Regions from separate parts of the Homo sapiens genome. Here all the other regions are linked to region 7. The links are contacts of gene promoters, found by promoter capture Hi-C in blood cells and fetal thymus (Javierre and others, 2016). All regions are on one chromosome and are shown on one strand. The core of a region is centred on a gene start or on the middle of the fragment in contact, and the rest is flanking DNA. Distances in the headings are between cores, read along the strand shown.

Evidence for each region. The method cuts DNA at HindIII sites, captures the fragments that hold promoters and counts their contacts. A CHiCAGO score of 5 or more calls a contact.
Region 1: a contact is called between a fragment that was not itself captured here and the fragment with the promoter of ZNF823 in region 7, in 1 of 17 cell types (neutrophils). The highest score is 6.6, in neutrophils.
Region 2: a fragment that was not itself captured here is called in contact with the fragment with the promoter of ZNF823 in region 7 in 1 of 17 cell types (M1 macrophages); the score reaches 5.6 in M1 macrophages.
Region 3: a contact is called between a fragment that was not itself captured here and the fragment with the promoter of ZNF823 in region 7, in 1 of 17 cell types (total CD8 T cells). The highest score is 5.0, in total CD8 T cells.
Region 4: a contact is called between a fragment that was not itself captured here and the fragment with the promoter of ZNF823 in region 7, in 1 of 17 cell types (non-activated CD4 T cells). The highest score is 5.1, in non-activated CD4 T cells.
Region 5: a fragment that was not itself captured here is called in contact with the fragment with the promoter of ZNF823 in region 7 in 1 of 17 cell types (erythroblasts); the score reaches 5.2 in erythroblasts.
Region 6: a contact is called between a fragment that was not itself captured here and the fragment with the promoter of ZNF823 in region 7, in 1 of 17 cell types (neutrophils). The highest score is 5.6, in neutrophils.

The regions. Positions count from the first base shown.
Region 1 is chr19:12,498,529-12,501,585 of GRCh38, reverse strand. No RefSeq gene overlaps it. Among named protein-coding and RNA genes, the nearest start is that of ZNF709, 15 kb to the right of the region's middle. The HindIII fragment of the contact is 4,354 bases long and covers 1-3,057 here.
Region 2 is chr19:12,521,270-12,524,134 of GRCh38, reverse strand. No RefSeq gene overlaps it. Among named protein-coding and RNA genes, the nearest start is that of ZNF564, 29 kb to the left of the region's middle. RefSeq lists a silencer at 1,806-2,100. The HindIII fragment of the contact is 5,681 bases long and covers 1-2,865 here.
Region 3 is chr19:12,334,112-12,337,153 of GRCh38, reverse strand. It overlaps a transcript of ZNF563 not described here. Among named protein-coding and RNA genes, the nearest start is that of ZNF563, 2.0 kb to the right of the region's middle. RefSeq lists an enhancer at 2,600-3,042. The HindIII fragment of the contact is 248 bases long and covers 1,271-1,518 here.
Region 4 is chr19:12,461,785-12,464,852 of GRCh38, reverse strand. ZNF709 (zinc finger protein 709) reads left to right here. Exons shown (of 4, transcript NM_152601.4): 4 at 1-3,068. The coding sequence ends at 857. Among named protein-coding and RNA genes, the nearest start is that of ZNF709, 21 kb to the left of the region's middle. The HindIII fragment of the contact is 3,846 bases long and covers 1-3,068 here.
Region 5 is chr19:12,631,526-12,634,491 of GRCh38, reverse strand. It overlaps ZNF791 (zinc finger protein 791), which reads right to left. Exons shown (of 4, transcript NM_153358.3): 4 at 658-2,966. It overlaps LOC105372279 (a long non-coding RNA gene), which reads left to right. Exons shown (of 4, transcript XR_007067142.1): 4 at 4-1,353. Among named protein-coding and RNA genes, the nearest start is that of ZNF791, 22 kb to the right of the region's middle. The HindIII fragment of the contact is 1,798 bases long and covers 455-2,252 here.
Region 6 is chr19:12,575,462-12,578,255 of GRCh38, reverse strand. It overlaps ZNF490 (zinc finger protein 490), which reads left to right. Exons shown (of 5, transcript NM_020714.3): 5 at 1-2,156. Among named protein-coding and RNA genes, the nearest start is that of LINC02926, 25 kb to the right of the region's middle. The HindIII fragment of the contact is 7,779 bases long and covers 1-2,794 here.
Region 7 is chr19:11,737,286-11,740,285 of GRCh38, reverse strand. It overlaps ZNF823 (zinc finger protein 823), which reads left to right and starts at 1,340. Exons shown (of 4, transcript NM_001080493.4): 1 at 1,340-1,469. The coding sequence starts at 1,467. RefSeq lists silencers at 1,162-1,356, 1,617-1,766 and enhancers at 1,367-1,446, 1,837-1,966. The HindIII fragment of the contact is 8,001 bases long and covers 1-3,000 here.

The DNA of each region.
Region 1 (3,057 bases), core at 412-2,911, 760 kb before region 7:
CCCTTTTGGAGTTTAGGCACAACTGACCAGCATTAATGTTAAAATAGAGACCATAAAACTAACAAAACTCTTTATGACAATAAGATACCAAATTATAAATAAGACCTAAGGCCATGCTCTCCAAGGGTTAAGTCACAAACTCTAGGTCATTCCGACCCAGTGTATTGGTTAACAGATTTTCTTATCTTTTTTTTTTTTTTTTTGAGACAGGGTCTCTTGCTTTGTCACCCAGGCTGGAGTACAGTGACATAATCACTGCTCACCACAGCTTGGACCTCCCAGGCTCAAGTGATCCATGTAGTGGGGAATATAGGCATATGCTGCCACACCCAGCTAATCGTTTTTACTTTTTTTTTTTTTTTTTTTTTTTGAGATGGAGTCTCACTCTGTCGCCCAGGCTAGAGTGCAGTGGTGCAGTCTTGGCTCACTGCAAGCTCCACCTCCCAGGTTTACGCCATTCTCCTGCCTCAGCCTCCTGCGTAGCTGGGACTACAGGCGCCCGCCACCACGTCCAGCTAATTTTTTGTATTTTTAGTAGAGACGGGGTTTCACCGTGTTAGCCAGGATGGTCTCGATCTCCTGACCTCATGATCCGCCCTCCTCGGCCTCCCAACGTGCTGGGATTACAGGCGTGAGCTGCTGCGCCCGACCTCATTTTTACTTTTTTTTTTAGATGGAGTCTCGTTCTGTCACCCAGGCTGGAGTGCAGTGGCGCAATCTCAGCTTACTGCAACCTCCACCTCCCGGGCTCAAGGGATTCTTCTGCCTCAGCCTCCCAAATAGTTGGGACCACAGGCACACACACCACACCTAGCTAATTTTTGTATTTTTAGTAGAGACAGGGTTTCACCATGTTGGCCAGGATGGTCTTGAACTCCTGGCCTCAAGTAATCCACCTGCCTTGGGCTCCCAGAGTGTTGGGATTACAGGCATAAGCCACTGTCCCCAGCCTAATGCAATCTGTGTGCCACAGCCTCCCAAAGTGCTGGGATTATAGGCTCCTGAGCCCAGCTGTCTTCCTTAAACATTCCTTTTTTTTTTTTGAGACAAAGTTTCGCTCTTATTGCCCAGGCTGGAGTGCGATGGCATGATCTCACCACAACCTCCGCCTCCCAGGTTCAAGTGATTCTCCTGCCTCAGCTTCCCGAGTAGCTGGGATTACAGGCGCCACCACCACGCTTGGCTAATTTTATATTTTTAGTAGAGACAGGGTTTCTCCATGTTGGCCAGGCTGGTCTCGAACTCCTGACCTCAGGTGATCCACCCGCCTCGGCCTCCCATAGTGCTGCGATTACAGGCATAAGCCACCGCGCCCGGCCCAAACATTCATTCTTATCTAATGACTCCAAATGTTTACTCCTTTAGCCAACTGTAAATCAAAGAACCTCTGAGTCTACCTATAACCTGTAAGCCCCCGCTTCAAGATATTCTACCTTTTCAGGCCAAATCAATGCCTACCTTCCATGTACTGATTTATGTCTGCCTGCAACTCCTGTCTTTCTAAAATGCATAAAACCAAACTGTAGCTGGGTGCTGTGGCTCGTGCCTGTAATCCCAGCACTTTGGAAGGCTGAGGCCAGCAGATCACTTGAGGCCAGGAGTTCAAGACCAGCCTGGCCAACAGGGCAAAACCCCATCTCTACTAAAAATACAAAAAATTTAGCCAGGCATGGTGACGCAGGCCTGTAATCCCAGCTACTTAGGAGGCTGAGGCACAACAATTGCTTGAACCTGGGAGGCTGAGGTTGCAGTGAGCTGAGATTGTGCCACTGCACTCCAGCCTGGGCGACAGAGTGAGACCCTGTCTCAAAAATACCAAATAACTGTAACCTGGCTGCCACTGGTGCACTTTCTCAGGACTTCTTGAGACTGCGTTTTCTGGGCCGTGGTCACTCATACTGACTCAGAATAAAGCCTTAAAATATTTGAGAGTTTGGTGATTCCATTGACAGTGGGCAGCTGTTAGAAAGAAGAGGGGGGTTGACACTGAATCTGCCAACAGTCAAATACCAGAAAGGGTGGAGTCCAACTACTCATTACAAGAGCAAACATGGATAAGAAAAACATGCATTTGCAATTGCTTGTTTTTGTTGTTGTTGTTGTGTGAGACGGAGTTTCACTCTTGTTGCCCAGGCTGGAGTGCAATAGCGTAATCTCAGCTTACCACAACCTCAGTCTCCTGGGTTCTAGTGATTCTCCTGCCTCAGCCTCCCGAGTAGCTGGGACTACAGGCGCCCGCCTCCTGAGTAGCTGGGACTACAGGCACCCGCCACCACGCTCAGCTAATTTTGTATTTTTAGTAGAGACAAGGGTTCTCCATGTTGGTCAGGCTGGTCTCGAACTCCAGACCTCAGGTAATCCGCCTGCCTCGGCCTCCCAAAGTGCTGGGAATACAGGTGTGAGCCACCGCGCCTGGCCTGCAATTGCTTGTTTTAATAAAGAAACACTAATAGGATGCACAAGGAATTACCAAAAGTTTTTACGAAGGGCGGGGTGGCTGGAGCAAGAATCCTGGAATGAACCAGGATATGCTTGACAGTGAGTCTTATGTTAGATTTTCCTGTCTCATAGATTTTTTTTTTTAACCTTCACATGTATTATCTCTCTAAAATGAATGGAGGCCTGGTGCAGTGGCTCACACTTGTAATCCCAGCACTTTGGGAGGCCGAGCTAGGAGGATCACTTGAACTCAAGAGTTCAAGACCAGCCCGGGCAACCCTGCCGGTTGGTGAAACCCTGCCTCTACAAAAAATACAAAAATTAGCCAGGCATGGTGGTATGTGCCTGTAGTTCCAGCTACTCAGGAGGCTGAGTTGGGAGGATCACTTGAGCAGGGGAGGCTGAGGCTGCAGTGAGCTATGATCGATCGTGCCACTGTACTCCATCCTGGGTGACAGAGCAAGACCCTGTCTAAAAATATACATTAAAAAGGCCGGGCACGGTGGCTCACGCCTGTAATCCCAGCACTTTGGGAGGCCGAGGCAGGCAGATCACCTGAGGTCAGGAGTTCGAGACCAGCCTGACCAACATGGAGAAACCCCATCTCTACTAAAAATA
Region 2 (2,865 bases), core at 10-2,509, 780 kb before region 7:
TTTCGTTTTTCTATCCATGAGGGACCTGTTCCTACACAGTCCATTTGGATTTTAGTAGGCATTTAGATTTGATCCCCAGGATTGACTTCCCTGTCTCCTCCCCCCTTCACTGTAGACCTGGACCTCACTCCCAGACCCAGGGCCTATGATAACCACTTCCCTTTATTGAAGAGGGATACTTTTAATTTCCTCTGCACACTATTCACAGACATGTATATCAAATATATATCTGATAATTTAAGCAAATAGAAATTCTTTGCTCGGAAATCTTTAAGAATATGAGAAGAAATAGCAGCATATAGTGTCCAGAAAAGGTGGGAGAGAACTTCTTAGGTATGGAAAGTTTATGTAATAGGTAATGTGTAACTATTTACCACTAATTCTGTACCTGGGGTAAAGGTGGTGTTCAAGAAATGGAGAGCCAGGCCTGGTGTGGTGGCTTATGTCTGTAATCCCAGCACTTTGGGAGTCCGAGGCAGGCAGATCACTTAAGGCCAGGAGTTCGAGACCAGCCTCGCCAACACAGCGAAACCCTATTTCCACTAAAAACAGAAAAATTAGCTGGGTGTGGTGGTGCACACCTGTAATCCCAGCTACTTGGGAGGCTGAGGCAAGATAATTGCTTGAACCTGGGAGGCAGAGGTTACAGTGAGCTGAGATCACGCCACTGCACTCCAGCCTAGGTGACAGAGCCAGACTCCATCTCAAAAAAAAAAAAAAAAAAAAGCAGTGGATAAATAAGTCACTGCTTGCACAATAAAGAAATAAATGGGCCAGGCACAGTGGCTCATGTCTGTAATCCAGCACTTTGGGAGGGTAAGGCGGATGGATCACGAGGTCAGGAGTTTGAGACCAGCCTGGCCATCATGGTGAAACCCCAACTCTACTAAAAATACGAAAAATTAGCCATGCATGGTGGCTGACGCCTGTAATCCCAGCTACTCAGGAGGCTGAGGCAGGAGAATTGCTTGAACCCAGCAGGCGGAGGTTGCAGTGAGCCAAGATTGCACCACTGCACTCTAGCCTGGGCGACAGAGTGGGACCCCATCGCAAAAAAAAAAAAAAAAACAAAAAACAACTCTGCAAGGAAATGAAGCAAGTGATCCCTCTTGGAGTGGATTTCATGAAGTACCTTTAAATGGCAGAACATCAGGTTTCCATTTCCAAAATTATTTTTCTTCATGCTCTGACTGAAATAGTGACTGGTGTTGGAGAAACGGGTGGAAGATAGCGTAATAAACCAAATTGTTCTTTCTAGTGGGGAAAGCATGAATCACCCAAAACTAATAATCACGGAATTTACTTACATGGTATGGAAGAATAAGCAACCATAGAAGAAATCAGAATAGTTGTCACAGAACTAATTTACAAGCATTAGTGCTGTTTCCCAGGCCAGGTTCTATCTTGTTCTCAAGGAATAGTTACATCTTCAGTGTAAATTATGGGTACCATTGAGAGAAGTTTTACTTTCTACTTTATGAAAATGATGATGATGACAATAATACCGCAACATGAGTACTGCTAATGGAAACACTTTATGCCCAGGCACAGTGGCTCACGCCTGTAATCCCAGTACTTTGGGAGGCCGAGGTGTGCAGATAGCTTGAGGTCAGGAGTTCAAGACCAGCCTGGCCTACGTGGTGAAACCCCGTCTCTTATTAAAAATATAAAAATCAGCCGGGTGTGGTGGTACACGCCTGTAATTCCAGCTACTCGGGAGGCTGAGACAGGAGAATCGCCTGAACCTGGGAAGCGGAGATTGCAGTGAGCTGAGATCATGCCACCGCACTTCAATCTGTGTGACAGAGTGAGACCCTGTCTCAAACAAAACAAAGCAAAACAAAACGCTTCAGACAGAATTACTGTCAAGCACGTCACGATGCACCTTCTGTGGGTTATCTTACTACATTTTACCTGTCTACTGATGCCCCAGCGTGGCCACAGCCTGAACTGCAGCACCTTCCTGCAGATACCCCTTTTTTAGTGAACAAGTAAATGCTGCTTCTAGTCCCCTTGGTACTAGGTCTGTGCAGAGCACAGAGAAAGATGAATCCAGCCAGAGACTGCCCCAGAGTAACTCCCAGAGGTGGAATGAGTGAGATAATGCTGGGATTGAGATGTTTGATGTAATCTCATGTCTGTTTTTGCTTTTGCTGCCCGTGTGTTTGAGTTCTTATCCACAAAGTCCTTGCACAGACAAGGTCATGTAGAATTTTACTGTTTTCCTTTAGTAGTTTTACAGTTTCAAGTCTTACATGTAAGTCCGTAATCCATTTTGAGTGGATTTTTGTATATGGTGAAAGATAGGGGTCCAGTTTCAATGTTCTGCATGTTGATAATCCAGTTTTCCCATCACCATTCATTGAAGAGACTGTCCTTTCTCCAGTCTGTGTTTTTGGCACCTTTGTCAAAAATCGTTGGTAAGTGTGTGAATTTATTTCTGGTTTCTCTATTCTGTTCCACTGGTCTGTCTATGTTTATGCCAGTACGGTGCTTTTTTGGTTACTTTAGATTTGTAGTCTATTGTGAAGTCATACTCAAGATTGCTTTGGCTATTTTTGTGGTTCCATATGAATTTTAGGATAATTTTTTCGATTTCTGTGAAGTATGGCTCTTGTATTTTGATAGGGATCACACTTGAATCTGCAAATTGCTTTGGGTGGTATGGACATTTGAAGAATATTCTAAGCTGGGCATGGTGGCTCACATCTGTATTCCCAGCACTTTGGCAGGCAGAGGCAGAAGGATCACTTGAGCCCAGTAGTTTGAGACTAGCCCAGGAAACAGTGAGACCTCGTCTCTACAACAAATTTTTAAAAAATTAGCTGGGCGTGGTGGTGTGTGCCTGTAGTCCCAGCTGAGGCA
Region 3 (3,042 bases), core at 145-2,644, 600 kb before region 7:
TTCTCTGGTGCGGATTTCTCAGGGTTGTGCTGAGACCTCCAGTATTTACAGCAGCTGATAGTCACTTAGAATATTCTGTCTGTGCCCTCACTGAGCAGGTAGTGACACAGGTTAAGAAGAACAGAAGCAAATAAAATGGATGTGTCCTCACCCAAGACATTACTATCTGAGAAGACTGTTTCAAATGAATAAATGAAACTGTGGGCATGAGAACCACAGGTGAATTCAACCTGGGCCAGTTTGCTTAAAAGGAAAATGTATTTGTACAATACTTAGGATTTAGATACAGATATGACTGTTTGGGTCAATGGTGTGGGCTGGGGTTGAGAGGGGGTTTCAGATGGATAAATGGGACATGTCCATCCCCAGGCACAGAGCACATGATGTCAACCCTGAGCTATGAAGGTCAGGGAGTGACTGAAGCCAAGGAGAGAGGAGAGCTCACATTTAATTAGTTGTTTTACACAACAGTTTGCTAAGGTAAAAATAATAGTTTGTTAGCATGTTTGTTTCTCAACAGAATAATTATTTACCAGTTGGTTTTGTTTGCTTGTTTGTTTTTGAGACGGAGTCTCGCTCTGTCGCCCAAGCTGGAGTACAATGGTGCGATCTTAGCTCACCACAACCTCCACCTCCTGGGTTCACGCGATTCTCCTGCCTCAGCCTCCTGAGTAGCTGGGATTACAGGCACGCACCACCATGCCCAGCTAATTTTTAGTATTTTTAGTAGAGACGGGGTTTCACCATGTTGGTCAGGCTGGTCTTGAACTCCTGACGTTGTGATCTGCCCGCCTCAGCCTCCCAAAGTGTTGGAATTGCAGGTGTGAGCCACCGCGCCTGGCCTTGTTTTGTTTTTGAGGAACCAAGATCTCCCCGTGTTGCCCAGACTGGTCTCCAATTCCTGGGCTCAAGCAATCCTCCTGCCCCTGCCTCCTAAAGTGCTGGGATTACAGGCCCAAGGCACCATGCCCAGTCCATTTACCAGTTTCCAAATCCCTATTAAATATCTTATATATATTTTTTCCACTACTTTATATATAGACACAGGAAGAAACCCAAGATTGTCAATTTTTTATTCAAACAGTGGAATTGAGGGTCTTTGTTTCAATTAACTCATCAGTGCTGGTGAGAAGCAAGTGAAGACTCTTACAGAGGCCATGGGGAACATTCCCTTTTGCCCTCTGATGTTTTGCTGAATTAATTGGAGAGAAGGCAGATTAATTGGAGGAAAAGCATACAAATTTTATTTAACGCGTATATCCAGGAAGCTTCAGAATGAAGACCCAGAGATACAAAGGAAATTGTTCATTTTAATGCTTAGGCTTAATGTATGGACAGCCGTGTAGAAATGTGATTAGATTGAAAGAGTATGATCCAATGCTAACAGACTGAGTGGGGAAACCCAACAAGGCCTGTGTGTCTAGATTGTTCTTGGCCTTTCTGAGCATGCATTCCTTCCTTCTCAGTATGAGGCAGGACCCACTCTGAAATGGAGGGTCTTATGACCTACAGCAAGCTTGTCCAACCCATGGCCCAGGAAGGCTTTGGATGCAGCCCAACACAAATTCATGATCTTTCTTAAAACATTAGGAATTTTTGTTTTTGCTATATATTTTTAAGCTCATTAGCTATTGTTAGTGTTAGTGTATTTTATATGTGGCCCAAGACGATTCATCTTCTTCCAATGTGGCCCAGGGAAGCCCCAGGGCCACCCTGACCTGCAGTCAAACAAAGTTGGACAGTTAATTTGCTTATGGCCAGTTTTTACACAGAAAGGACAATGGAAAGTTAGAGTAGTATGTTTTGATTTTATGCCTGGATTTAGGGGAAAAGGGTTCTGGATTCTACGACCCACTTTGGAGAAGAGAGATTCTAGTTTCTAAGGCTAGCCTTGGATAGAAGAGTAGGACTAAGAGTCCCAAGAATGGGACTAAGTTTTTCCTCTGCCCTCTGTGGAGAAAAAACTTTTGCTTCTGAGGCTTCTTCCAAGGTCTTCTTTTTGGGGTATTGTTTTCTGAGCCCCAGCCACCTGGAGTGGGCAGCAGAGTTTGAACCAGTGACTCTACACCGAGCCCATTCTGAAGGCTGCAAAGGGAGAGAAATGGAGCCCCCTTTGGTGCTTCCTCAGCAGCCTGCGCACGCCTCCACGTAGCACGAAGCTGCACATAGAATCAGAATTTACCATTTATGTGTTAGGAAAATCTGGGTAAAGGGTTTATGAATTTGACAGTTTATGTAGGTCAGTACCTTAAAGTAACCTTTTTTTTTTTTTTTTTTTTTTTTTTGAGACCAGGTCTCACTCTGTCACCCAGGCTGGAATGCCGTGGCACGATCTCGGCTCACTGCAACCTCCGCCTCCCAGGTTCAAGTGATTCTCCTGCCTCAGCCTCCCGAGTAGCTGGGATTACAGGTGCCCGCCACCATGCCCAGCTAATTTTTGTATTTTTAGTAGAGATGTGGTTTCACCATGTTGGCCAGGCTGGTCTCCAACTGGTGACCTCAGGTGATTCACCCGCCTCGGCCTCCCAAAGTGCTGGGATTGCAGGCGTGAGCCACCGCCCCGGGCCCTTAAACTAACTTTACATGAAACTTTCCTGTTGGTGAAAATGCACATCTTGACGGTGGGGGCATTTCCACACTCTGCAGAGGGCACAGGGAAGTATGTTGAGCTCCCAGAGTCAAATCCTTCAGTGTCCCAGTCTCATCACCAGGTTTTGGTTCACTCTGGGGTTCCATTTCAACAGTTAAGAGTGGCTGCCAAGTTTGGGCATATGTTTAGCCTCCTGAATGGGACGTTTGCTGAAGTATGAGGGCAGCAGGCTGCTTATCTGCACTAGTTCAAGTTTTTGCTTTTTTTTTCCTGTTGTATTTTTGTTTTGATTCATTCATTCATTTATTGCTGCCGTGTGATTTCAGTTCTTCCACACATTTGATATTTTAATACCGTTCTTGACTTGTTTTTATTTCCTTGGCTGAAAATGAGCAGATTGAGAGGCAAGGTGAGAGAGGAAGGCTTAACCTTGCCGCCAAGAGTCTCATCCT
Region 4 (3,068 bases), core at 385-2,884, 720 kb before region 7:
TGCACACTGGAAATGGACCTTATAAATGCAAGGAATGTGGGAAAGCCTTTGATTGTCCTAGTTCTTTTCAAATCCATGAACGAACTCACACTGGAGAGAAACCCTATGAATGTAAACAGTGTGGTAAAGCCTTCAGTTGTTCCAGTTCCTTTCGAATGCATGAAAGAACTCACACTGGAGAGAAACCCCATGAATGTAAACAATGTGGTAAAGCCTTCAGTTGTTCCAGTTCTGTTCGAATACATGAAAGGACTCACACTGGAGAGAAACCCTATGAATGTAAACAGTGTGGTAAAGCCTTCAGTTGTTCCAGTTCCTTTCGAATGCATGAAAGAATTCACACTGGAGAGAAACCCTATGAATGTAAACAGTGTGGTAAAGCCTTTAGTTTTTCTAGTTCCTTTCGGATGCATGAAAGGACTCACACTGGAGAGAAACCCTATGAATGTAAACAATGTGGTAAAGCCTTCAGTTGTTCCAGTTCCTTTCGAATGCATGAAAGGACTCACACTGGGGAGAAACCCTATGAATGTAAACAGTGTGGTAAGGCGTTTAGTTGTTCCAGTTCCATTCGAATACATGAAAGGACTCACACTGGAGAGAAACCTTATGAGTGTAAACAATGTGGTAAGGCCTTCAGTTGTTCTAGTTCTGTTCGAATGCATGAAAGGACTCACACTGGAGTGAAACCCTATGAATGTAAACAATGTGACAAAGCCTTCAGTTGCTCACGTTCCTTTCGAATCCATGAACGAACTCACACTGGAGAGAAACCCTATGCATGTCAACAATGTGGTAAAGCCTTCAAGTGTTCCCGTTCCTTTCGAATACATGAAAGAGTTCATAGTGGAGAGTAACCCTATGTATATAAGCAATATGGCAAAGTTTTCAGTTGTCCTATTTCCTTTTTTTTTTTTTTTTTTTTTGAGTTGAATTCTCACTCTGTTGCCCTGGCTGGAGTGCAGTAGAGTGATCTCAGCTCACTGCAACCTCTGTCTCCTGGGTTCAAGCGATTCTCCTGCCTCAGCTTCCTGAGTAGCTGGGACAACAGGTGTGAACGACCATGCCCACTTAATTTTTGTATTTTTAGTAGAGATGGGGTTTCGCCATGTTGGCCAGGCTGGTCTCGAACTCCTGACCTCAGACGATCCACCTGCCTTGGCCTCCCAAAGTGTTGGATTACAGGTGTGAGCCACCACACCCGGCCCCCATTTCCTTTTGAAGACATGAAATTATTCATATTTCAGAGAAACCCTATAAGACATGGGAATACCTTCAGTTATTTACATGTGAATATGAGGAAGCATTCATACTGGACAGGAAACCCTGCGAATGTAGGCAGTGTGGGAAAACCTTCAATGGTCATATGACCTTTTAAGGACCATGAGAAGGCATATGAAGTGTAAAGAATTTTCATATGCCCTATAAATGTAAAGAATTTATAACCTTAAAAATGTAAAGAATGTGGAAAACCCTATAAATGTAAAAAATGTAGAAAAACCTTTATTTGTCTTAGTTTACTTGGAAACCATGAACAAACTCACACTGGAAAGCGACTTCTTAAATATAGACATTGTGAGAAAGCCTTCAGTTGGCCCACATACTAATATGTGAGAATGCAGACTGGATAGAAATCCTATAAAAGTGAGATATAGCAATGTTTTCCATTTTAACAAATGCTCATGTGATACTCCCTTATGTGTGAAACTTCAATCTCATGTTGAAACTCCCACTAGGGAGGTACTGTATAAATGTAGATAATATGGGAAAGCCTGATGCAAATTAATTCATGTATATTGTTCTAGAAAATTCACAACATGTCAGAAATGTGATAAAACATATTATCAGTTACTGATTCTTAAAATGGATCTCTGAATTATGGATTTCTATTACTTTCACAAAAGAACACTGAGATGAGATAATTCTGTAAGCTCTTATACAGTTGTACACAAGTTGAATTGATAGTATTTTTTCATTAAATCAGTTTCTGAAATTTTGTCTTTCCATATTGAAGTCTGTTAGATTCATGAGTGAATTGAAGTGTATTTATAATAAGCTAGCAGTTTTGATTTTTATGTATTTTTTAGTTGTGCTGTAATGGGCCATCAAAAAATGACAATTTGGTAATTTTTAGGATTTCCTACTGGCCTTATGTGGCAGGTACTAGATATCATTATATGTATTTCATCTTTCTGACCAAAAGAGGCTTTTTTAGAGGAAGACAGAGTACCCTTTTTTCTATTTTTTATGCTAAAAAATAATCATAATAAATTTTTGAGTCTGCAAAGTTTATCATACAGTATACTCTCTCATTGGAATTATTATTTTCATCTTCTGTTTGCTGTTTGTAATTCCTTCTGGCTGTGATTTGAATAATAGACTTTGTATTAATAAGAGAGATCTGAGATAGAACCATATAACCTATAGCTGGAAATGGCTGTCCTGGATTGTGTTAACATGGGTTATGTTGTGACCTATGTTTTCTATAATCTAACCTTTTATGGCTCCACGGTATAATTCACCAATAGCCTACTTGCAGGAGATATGGAAGGCAGAAGTGAAGAAAGCATTAGTCAGGTTTTATAGCCACCATATGTGGAGACAGATGGATGCATAGGAGCTTCAGGGACACCTGCTTCCACCACATTGTCCTGATCCTTTGCTCTGCCAATTGAGAGTATTCTTAGAACCACCACTAACTGCTTGACTGCCATATTTTCCTTCCTTCCTTCCTTCTTTCTTTCCCTTTCCCTTTCTTTTCTTTCTTTACTTTCTTTTTCCGAGATGGAGTCTTGCTCTGTCGCCCAGGCTGGAGTGCAGTGGTACGATCTTGGCTCACTGCAACCTCTGCCTTCTGGGTTCAAGCAATTGTCCTGCCCCAGCCTCCCAAGTAGCTGGGATTATAGGTGCCCACCACCAAGCCCAGCTAAATTTTTTTTGTATTTTTAGTAGAGACAGGGTTTCATCATTGTTGGCCAGGCTGGTCTCAAACTCCTGACCTCATGATCTGCCCACCTTGGCCTTCCAAAGTGCTGAGATTACAGGCGTGAGCCACTGTGCATGGCCCC
Region 5 (2,966 bases), core at 104-2,603, 890 kb before region 7:
CAGGTGTGACCGTGGTGATTGCTGGCAATAGGGCACTGAAAATACCACTGTTTTGAAGAGAATTTTGTTTTATGACAAAATGTAAGTATAAGAATAAAAAACATCTAAGGGAAAAATACCAGAACATTTATGCACATGCTAATATTGAGTCAGAATGTATCTTGACAAAATGACAAAGTTGATCTGAATATTCATAACTGTAATGGGATATTTTAATATAGCCTTTCAGGAAACGGGGAAGACAATTATTTGTTTTTGAACTAATAGAGATGGGGTCTTACTATGTTGCCCAGGCTGGTCTCCAACTTCAGGCCTCAAGCAATCCTGCCTCAGCCTCCCAAATTGTTGGGATTACAGCCATGAGCCACTGCACCCAGATGATGATAATATTTGATAGTATACATGTTGTTTGGAAACAGTTAACAAAATATTTCTAAGAAACATCTAAGAAGCTTTTGCTTCAAATAAATAAAAAATGCATTATTTTAGTTGCATACAACCAAACATAAATGAAAATAAACCGATGGAGAATATTCAGGAATAGTTGGAAACACCCACAATTTGTCTGATATGAGGAAGGTGATTATTCTCAAATGGAAGGATGGGGGAGAGTAGTCACTGTATAATGCAGTAAGAGAACAAACTCCCATATAGTTGTTTTTTTTTTTTTTTACTGTTTTACTGTAGCTGTCATGGTGGAATCAGGAATACATAGTCCCTAGTGGCATTAACAGAACAAGAACCATACAAATTAAAGCTCATAGAAACACAAAGGGAAGACAGAACCTCAGAGAACAATGCCAACCATGACAGTCTGAAATAGATGCTTGGGCCACACATGAAGGCTAGAAGGAAAATCCAAACTGTACGTGGATCTTTGATGCGGAGCTTGTGGAGACAACTGTGGAAACCAACACATCTCTTTGAGAATGGAAGTCAAGCAGCTCAGGGTGTTTTCAGGATACTTTTGATTGGCAGAGAAAATAACCAGGAAAATGAGCAGGAAGCAGGCTGTCTCCCTGTATGGTGGGGTTCCAATACCTGACTAATGTCTTCTTCACTTCTGCCTGGCAAATCTCATGCAAGTGAGGCTATAAGTGAATTTCAACATGGATCTATAAAGGGAACAGATTCTAGGAAATTTACCTGTGTCGACAGGTAGCAGGAGGGCCACGTCCAGCTCTAGATTTTATTGTCCTATCACAGGTGTCCTTCCTGAATTCAAACTCTACTATTCAAATCCCAGACAGAATTATAAAAAAAAGGCGAAAATAATAATTCGCATAAGAATATATGATAAACTTCACATACTTACCAACTTATGCCAGATGTTTAATAAAAAGGAAAATGGAATAAGGCTCTTCTAGCTGAAATTCATTTTATTTATTTATTTATTTGAGATGGAGTCTCGTTCTGCTGCCCAGGCTGGATTGCAGTGGCACGATCTCGGCTCACTGCAAGCTCCGCCTCCCGGGTTCACACCATTCTCCTGCCTCAGACTCCTGAGTAGCTGGGACTACAGACGCCCGCCACCATGCCCAGCTAATTTTTTGTATTTATAGTAGAGACGGGGTTTCACTGTATTAGCCAGGATGGTCTCAATCTCCTGACTTCGTGATCCGCCCACCTCGGCCTCCCAAAGTGCTGGGATTACAGGTGTGAGCCACTGCGCCCGGCAAGAAATTTATTATATTTTAATTTAATTTTTTTGATATGGAGTCTCGTTCTGTTGTCCAGGCTGGAGTGCAGTGGTGTGATCTTGGCTCACTGCAACCTCTGACTTCCAGGTTCAAGCATTTCTCCTGCCTCAGCCTCCCAAGTAGCTGAGATTACAGGTGCCCTCCAACATGCCCAGCTAATTTTTGTATTTTTAGTAGAGATGGGATTTCACCATGTTGGCCAGGTTGGTCTCGAACTCCTGACCTCAAGTGATCTGCTTGCCTTGGTTTCCCAAAGTGCTGGAATTACAAAGGAGTGAGCCACCGTGTCTGGCCAAGAAATTTAAAAAGCAGTTTTTCGGAAAAGGTGAAATAAATATATAATGGGTAATATATGCACCACCTTCCACATGAGGCCAGTAGGAAAAATCCTAGTTACAGTGTGTCAGTATTCAACAATCTCTTTATTCAGAGAACAACTGAAAAACTATACACAAATTAAAACTAATTGTATATTAAAAATACACTTCTACTAACACTGGTCTTTAAAAGAAAAAAAAAATACACTTCAGGCCGGGTGCGGTGGCTCAAGCTTGTAATCCCAGCACTTTGGGAGGCTGAGGCGGTCGAATCACGAGGTCAGGAGATTGAGACCATCCTGGCTTAACACGGTGAAACCCCATCTCTACTAAAAATACAAAAAAAATTAGCTGGGCATGGTGGCGGGCGCCTGCAGTCCCAGCTACTGGGGAGGCTGAGGCAGGAGAATGGCGTGGACCCGGGAGGCGGAGCTTGCAGTGAGCCGAGATCACACCGCTGAACTCCAGCCTGGGCAACAGAGCAAGACTCCGTCTCGAAAAAAAAAAAATACACTTCAGTTTACTCATGAATCAAGACATCAAGAGAAAGAGAAAAGTTTTACTAACTGATTTAATGAGAAAACACAACCTTTTAAACTTTTGACCACTGCTTAAAGAGTACTTACAGAATTATCTCACTTCCAAGACTTCTTGGAAAAGTAGTTAAGTTACAATTCATAGTCCAGAGATGTACTTGAAGAATGAGCCAGTGATAAAAAATTTTTAACTTTTTTTTGGTGTGTGGGATGGAGTCTTGCTCTGTTGCCCAGGCTGGAGTGTAGTGGCACAATCTCAGCTCACTGCAGCCTCCACCTCCCAGGTTCAAATGATTCTCCTGCTTCAGCCTCCCAAGTAGCTGGAATTACAGGTGCATGCCACCACGCTCAGGTAATTTTTGTATTTTTAGTAGAGATGGGGTTTCACCGTCTTGGCCAGGCTGGTCTCGAAC
Region 6 (2,794 bases), core at 268-2,767, 840 kb before region 7:
CTTGCTTTCCCTGTTTTCTGGCACATTCTACCCTGAGATATTCAGCGGCATATGCACTGATGATGCTCCGGCCTTCTCACGTCAGTGCATGTCACATGCATCCTGCTCCAGGACTGGTTTCCTAGCCTCCCGCTAAGACTAGCACTTAGCTCTTCTTGGAAAAGGACCCACCCTGCAGCGCTCCAGCTCTGTTGTGTATGGGAGGTGCTGGTGTCAGGGTTCACAAGCCATGGAACTACCTTGCTTCACATCACAAGGCAAGGTGAACTCAACTCCCAATAAACTGCTTGCTGGAGCCTCCGAATTCTCCGTTTTCTGAATTGCATAGGCACGATAGGGGTCGGGTCTGTCCTTTGTTGGAGTCAGTCCCCCCTTTTCTTAGCAAGTCAGTGTGTTTTAGAAGGGAGGTGGCAGCATTGAGGGAAACCAGGTCACCATCCACCCTCGTAACAACAGTCTCCCTGGGTGGGTCCCAGAAGTGATCTTTGTGTCGCTCGGGTCGGAACTCTTTAGGCCTCTGGCCTCCACCCTCCCCCAACAGCAGGGATGGGTCAGGTGGCAGCATCCAAAACCACGGTGAAGATACTAGGGTCCAGAGGCCGACTGGAGCAAGGTTTGCTGGCAGATGAGGCCTCAGTGGAAGTGACGGCTACTGTGGAGATGCAGTGGAGGACCTGGTGGCTGAGCCAGGAGATGCACACCTTCGCTTCTCTCACCAGGAACATTCGCTTCTCTCACCAGGAACATTTATGGTAGTATGAGGGGTTGGAACATTATTACTCAACCCATTTCAGGTCCTTTCACATTCTTGAGCTGCCATGTTGTGCTTTTGTAGAGAGATGATTATTGTACTGTGGGAGGTCAGGAAGTTCGAGATTCCTTCACTGTCAGAATGGGCTCAAGGAGCCATCTTTTGTGATAGGTATTGGGGAACTAAGGGGTATCTCTGCTACAGGAATGGGAGTGAGAACATTCACTTTTTGAAGGACAAGTATATGTGGGTCTATGATGATGTTTTTGTAAAACCCTTTTGTGTATGTGTCTGTGTGAGTCCTAATATTCAGTAAGTATTTTCCTCTGTGTAACTCCCTCTAATAGGTGTAGTCAACAAAGCTGTGCTAATATCTCTGTCCCCTTGATCCTGGCATTCTGGAAGACACGAAAGCAAGCAAGGATATATAAGGCACTGTGGTGGTTATTCCCGAGGAGCCAGAGAAACCTGGAGAAGAGATCAGAACACCTGGGGTCCTTCTATTTGGGAGAATCTTTTAGTATCTGGGCTGTTACACCTGTGGGTTTGTGAATTTGTGTCTGTCCACCTGTATGTACAGTGATAACGTGTGTGATTTTTGTATATTTGTCTAGAGGGCTGTGTGTATATATATTTATATATATTTTTAAATATGGAATGCTTTTAGGTTTTTTTTTTTTTTTTTTTTTTTGAGATGGATTCTCACTGTTGCCAGGCTGGAGTGCAGTGGCACAATCTTGGCTCACTGCAACCTCCACTTCTCAGGTTCAAGCAATTCTCCTGCCTCAGCCTCCTGAGTAGCTGGGACTATAGGCGCGTGCCACCACAACCAGCTAAATTTTTTTGTATTTTTAGTAGAGATGGGGTTTCACCATGTTGACCAGGATGGTCTCAATCTCCTGACCTTGTGATCCACCCACCTCGGTCTCCCCAAAGTGCTGGGATTACAGGCGTGAGCCACTCTGCCTGGCTGGTTATTTTGTTTGTTTGTTGTTTTTTTGAGACACAGTCTCGCTCTGTCACCAAGCTGGACTGCAGTGGCATGATCTCGGCTCACTGCAATCTCTGCCTCCCAGGTTCAAGCAATTCTCCTGTTTCAGCCTCCTGAGTAGCTGGGATTACAGGCGCGTGCCACCATACCGAGCTAGTTTTTTTATTTTTAGTAGAGACGGGGTTTCACCATGTTGGCCAGGATGGTCTCGCCCTCCTGACCTTGTGATCTGCCTGCCTCGGCCTCTCAAAGTGCTGGGATTAGAGGCTTGAGCCACCAGGCCCGGCTGGAATGCTTGCATTTTCTTGCCTGATTTCCCTGGGAGCACCCCCCTTAACACTGAATGGAGCTGGTGAGAGCAAATATCCTTGTTTCTGATATTAGATATTAAAAATATGGTTTTTCACCATCAAAGATTTTATTGAGTTTTTCATATATGCCTTGTAGCAATTTGAGTAAATTATATTCCTTGTTTGTTGCAGATTTTTAATCATAAATGGGTGTTGAATTATGTCATGCTTTTTTGCATCAATTGAGACTGTCATTTTTCCGTCATTTCCTAATGTGGTGTATTCCACTGATCAATTTCCATATGGTGAACCATCCTTACATTCCAGGGACAAATCTCACTTGGTTATATTGCATAATGCTTTGAATATATTGCTTTATATGCTTTGCTGGCATTTATTTCAAGATTTTTGCATCAGTACTCATAAGGGACAGGAATGCCATCTTCCTTGCTCTCACGCCATGTCACACTTGCTTGAGAGCCCTGCATTGTTCTCTCTGATACCTCATTTTTGTAATAAGCCTTTTCATACTCTCGGTGTGTGTGTGCACCACATAGCTCTCGGTGTCAACCTCTGAAGCACACCTTTTCAGGCAACCGTAACAGTTGGCACTGTCAGCAGGATGTCTAGATGTTGGTCACCATGCAATGGGTCAGCTTTCCCTTTCTCTCAGGTGCTAACCTGCTCTGCTACCTGGTGGCCAGCATGCTCTTTGAGCTGCTGCTGCTTGCTGCTCTGTGTTCCATTGCTGAGGCCGAACAA
Region 7 (3,000 bases), core at 91-2,590:
CTTTCTATTTAGCCATGGCTACCAGCTTCTAGTTCATAACGCTTTTTTTTTTTTTTTTTTGAGATGGAGTTTTTTTTTTTCCTCGCTCTGTTGCCCAGGCTGGAGTGCAGTGGTGTGATGTCGGCTCACTGCAACCTCTGCCTGCCGGGTTCAAGCGATACTCCTGCCTCAGCTTCCTGAGGAGCCGGGATTACAGGAGCGTGCCACCACACCCGGCTAATTTTGCGTTTTTAGTAGAAACGGGGTTTCATCATGTTTGTCAGGCTGGTCTCAAACTCCCGACCTCAGGTGATCCACCCGCCTCAGCCTCCCAAAGTGCTGGGATTACAGGCGTGAGCCACCGCGCCCGGCCATAACGCTTTTAAGTCTAGTATTTTTACTTCATAAACATATGGAGAAAGGCTAATGTTTTCAAATTCAAAGTGTGATGTCTTGGCTTTTGATTGGAGCGTTTAATTCATTAACATTTAATGGCATAAGGAGGGAGCATTTCCACGCTGTGCAGAGGGGACAGGTATTTTGAGACCTCAGAGTAAAATTCTTAATTGTCCCTCCCTTATCACCAGCTTCTGATCCACCCCGGAGCTCCATTTTAGGAATCATTGCCTGGCTTCCCAGCTTGGGGATATGTTTGACCTCCTGAAAGGGGGTCTGCTTGTGAACTGTGAGTGCAGTAGGCTGCTTCTCTGAGCTTGTTCAAGTTTTTGCTTTTCTTCTCTTTTGATTCTTTATGAAATATTGCTGCCATATAATTCCAGTTTTTCCACATACTCAACTATTTTATTTTGTTGTCCTGTTTTTATCTTCTGGGCTGAAAATGAGTAGATTGAGAGATAAGGTGAGGGAAAGGCTTGGCAACGTCGCCAACAGCCTCATCCCAAATTCCTGATCCCTGGAGGACATCAGGCCCTCCCTCCTGCTGCAGGGTGGCCTGTGTGCCCCGGGCTCCCCTCCTGCTCCGAGGTCCGGGAATGGCTCCACTGGACAGGGAGCCTGGAATTCCCTGCACACACTTGTGAGTCCCTGTCCAGGAGGAAAAAGCAGGAAGAACCCACTGAATACAATCAGGAAATTCTAAAATGCAAACGTCACTTCGGGAGGGGTCAGGTCACTCCGTTGGGAGGAAGCCCGCCTTGCCAAGGGTCGTGCCTGGAACCTGTTCATCCGGCTCCACTCAGCACTGTGAGATCGCTTCTTCTGTCAATCAGCCACCAAGGGGCGGGACCTGGAGCACTATCCAATCAGGGATGAGGGGGCGGGGATTGTGAGAACTGTCAATCAGGCACGCTGCAGGGAGGAGGGTGCGACGTTCAAAGAGCCCGCGGAGTCTTCTCCACGCCCCTGCGCTCTGAGTCCTGGCTCTGGCGCTGAGAGAGAGACGCCCTGGAAGGTCTGTATCAGCGTCTGTCGCGCTGGGACCCACACTGGCTTTTAAGGAGGACACCCGGACACCTGGAAGCTGGGAAATGGTGAGTGTGCGGGGCCCGGCGTCCCGAGGCAAAGAAGGGGCAGGTTGGAACCGGCCGGAACCGACCGTGAGGGGACCCGGGCCTCGCCCTGGGCGACTCCGGGGTCTGCAAATCCCAGTGCCCCTGGCGCAGCTCTGCCCTTGGTCCCCTGGGCCGCAAGATGGGGCTGGGGCGGCAGCCGGGACCCCGGGCGTCCTGTCCCGTCCCTGCTCGGCCGCTGCGGCCCCGGCCCCGGCGCCCTCTCTGGGCAGCTCCGCGCCCGCAGCTCCGCGTCTCCCCAGATTGTGCAGTTGTAACCGGCACAGGTTCACGGCCCGAGTCACTGCACCGAGACGCCGAAGGCTGCAGCAGAAACAGTTTAATGGGGGAGAGGGGAGGACACCCCAGATCCGCCTCCCTGAGAGGTTTGGGGATGGGGTGTTTAGAGGTGTGGACAGGGACGGCTGGAGTGTGGGGTCGCTGGTTGGTGGAGAAGTGAGAGGTGACTCCTGGGACTGGAGGTGAAGAAACCGCATTCTGCTGAGTGGGTTCCCTTGTGGGGTCTTCAGCCTGGTTGGCGCCAGCCTTTCCGCTGCAATTCAGGATCCGAGAAAGAACTGAGGCGACCCGTGAGCAACTCTCAAGAGATCTTATCCCCGGGCACGATGAGGAAGCCGGCGGTCAGCGTCTGCTGTGACCTGACTCTCAGGGAGGCGGCCCCGTGAGGCAGCGGGGCTGAGGGCACCTGGTTAATATCTAACTGCAATCTCGCCTCCAGCCTGGCTCGCAGTTCCTGTGAACCCGGTGAGGACGCTGCACGGTGACAACGGAGGGTCACCAGGCAGAATCCAGACTCGTGTGTGTGGGCTTTGTGCTTTGGAAGAGAAGCTGTGATCTGTGGGTTCCCCAGTCCCTTCTTTCTTCCCAAAGGTGACCGGTTTCCCTCCGAGTCTTCCAAAGATGTGGGCAGCAGGGTCTCAAATCCACCACCCTATCCCCTCATCCTAACTCCTCCTAGGGCTGGCAGCAAATCTCTTGGTTTTCAGAGCCTTCCCCAGGCTAACTGTCTCTCATCAATTCCCAGCAACTTTATGAACTCTTTGTCCCTCAGGCAATATTTCAAACAGAGGCATTATTTTAATTGTCACTTTCTTTTCACATAGCAATGTATGGCTCTTTTTAAAAGATGTGTTTTTGTGTTTGTGAACATTTCACATGTGAGGAAGCAAAGAATAACCACTTGACTCCAGTGTGAAAAAAAAAAAAAAAAAAAAAAAGCCGGGCGCGGTGGCTCACGCCTGTAATCCCAGCACTTTGGGAGGCTAAGGCTGGCGGATCACCTGAGGTCGGGAGTTCGAGACCAGCCTGACCAACATGGAGGAACTCCGTCTCTACTAAAAATACAAAATTAGCCGGGGTGGTGGCTCATGCCTGTAATCCCAGCTACTTGGGAGGCTGAGGGAGGAGAATTGCTTGAACCCGGTAGGCGGAGGTTGCGGTGAGCCAAGATCACGCCATTGCACTCCAGCCTGGGCAACAAGAGTGAAACTCC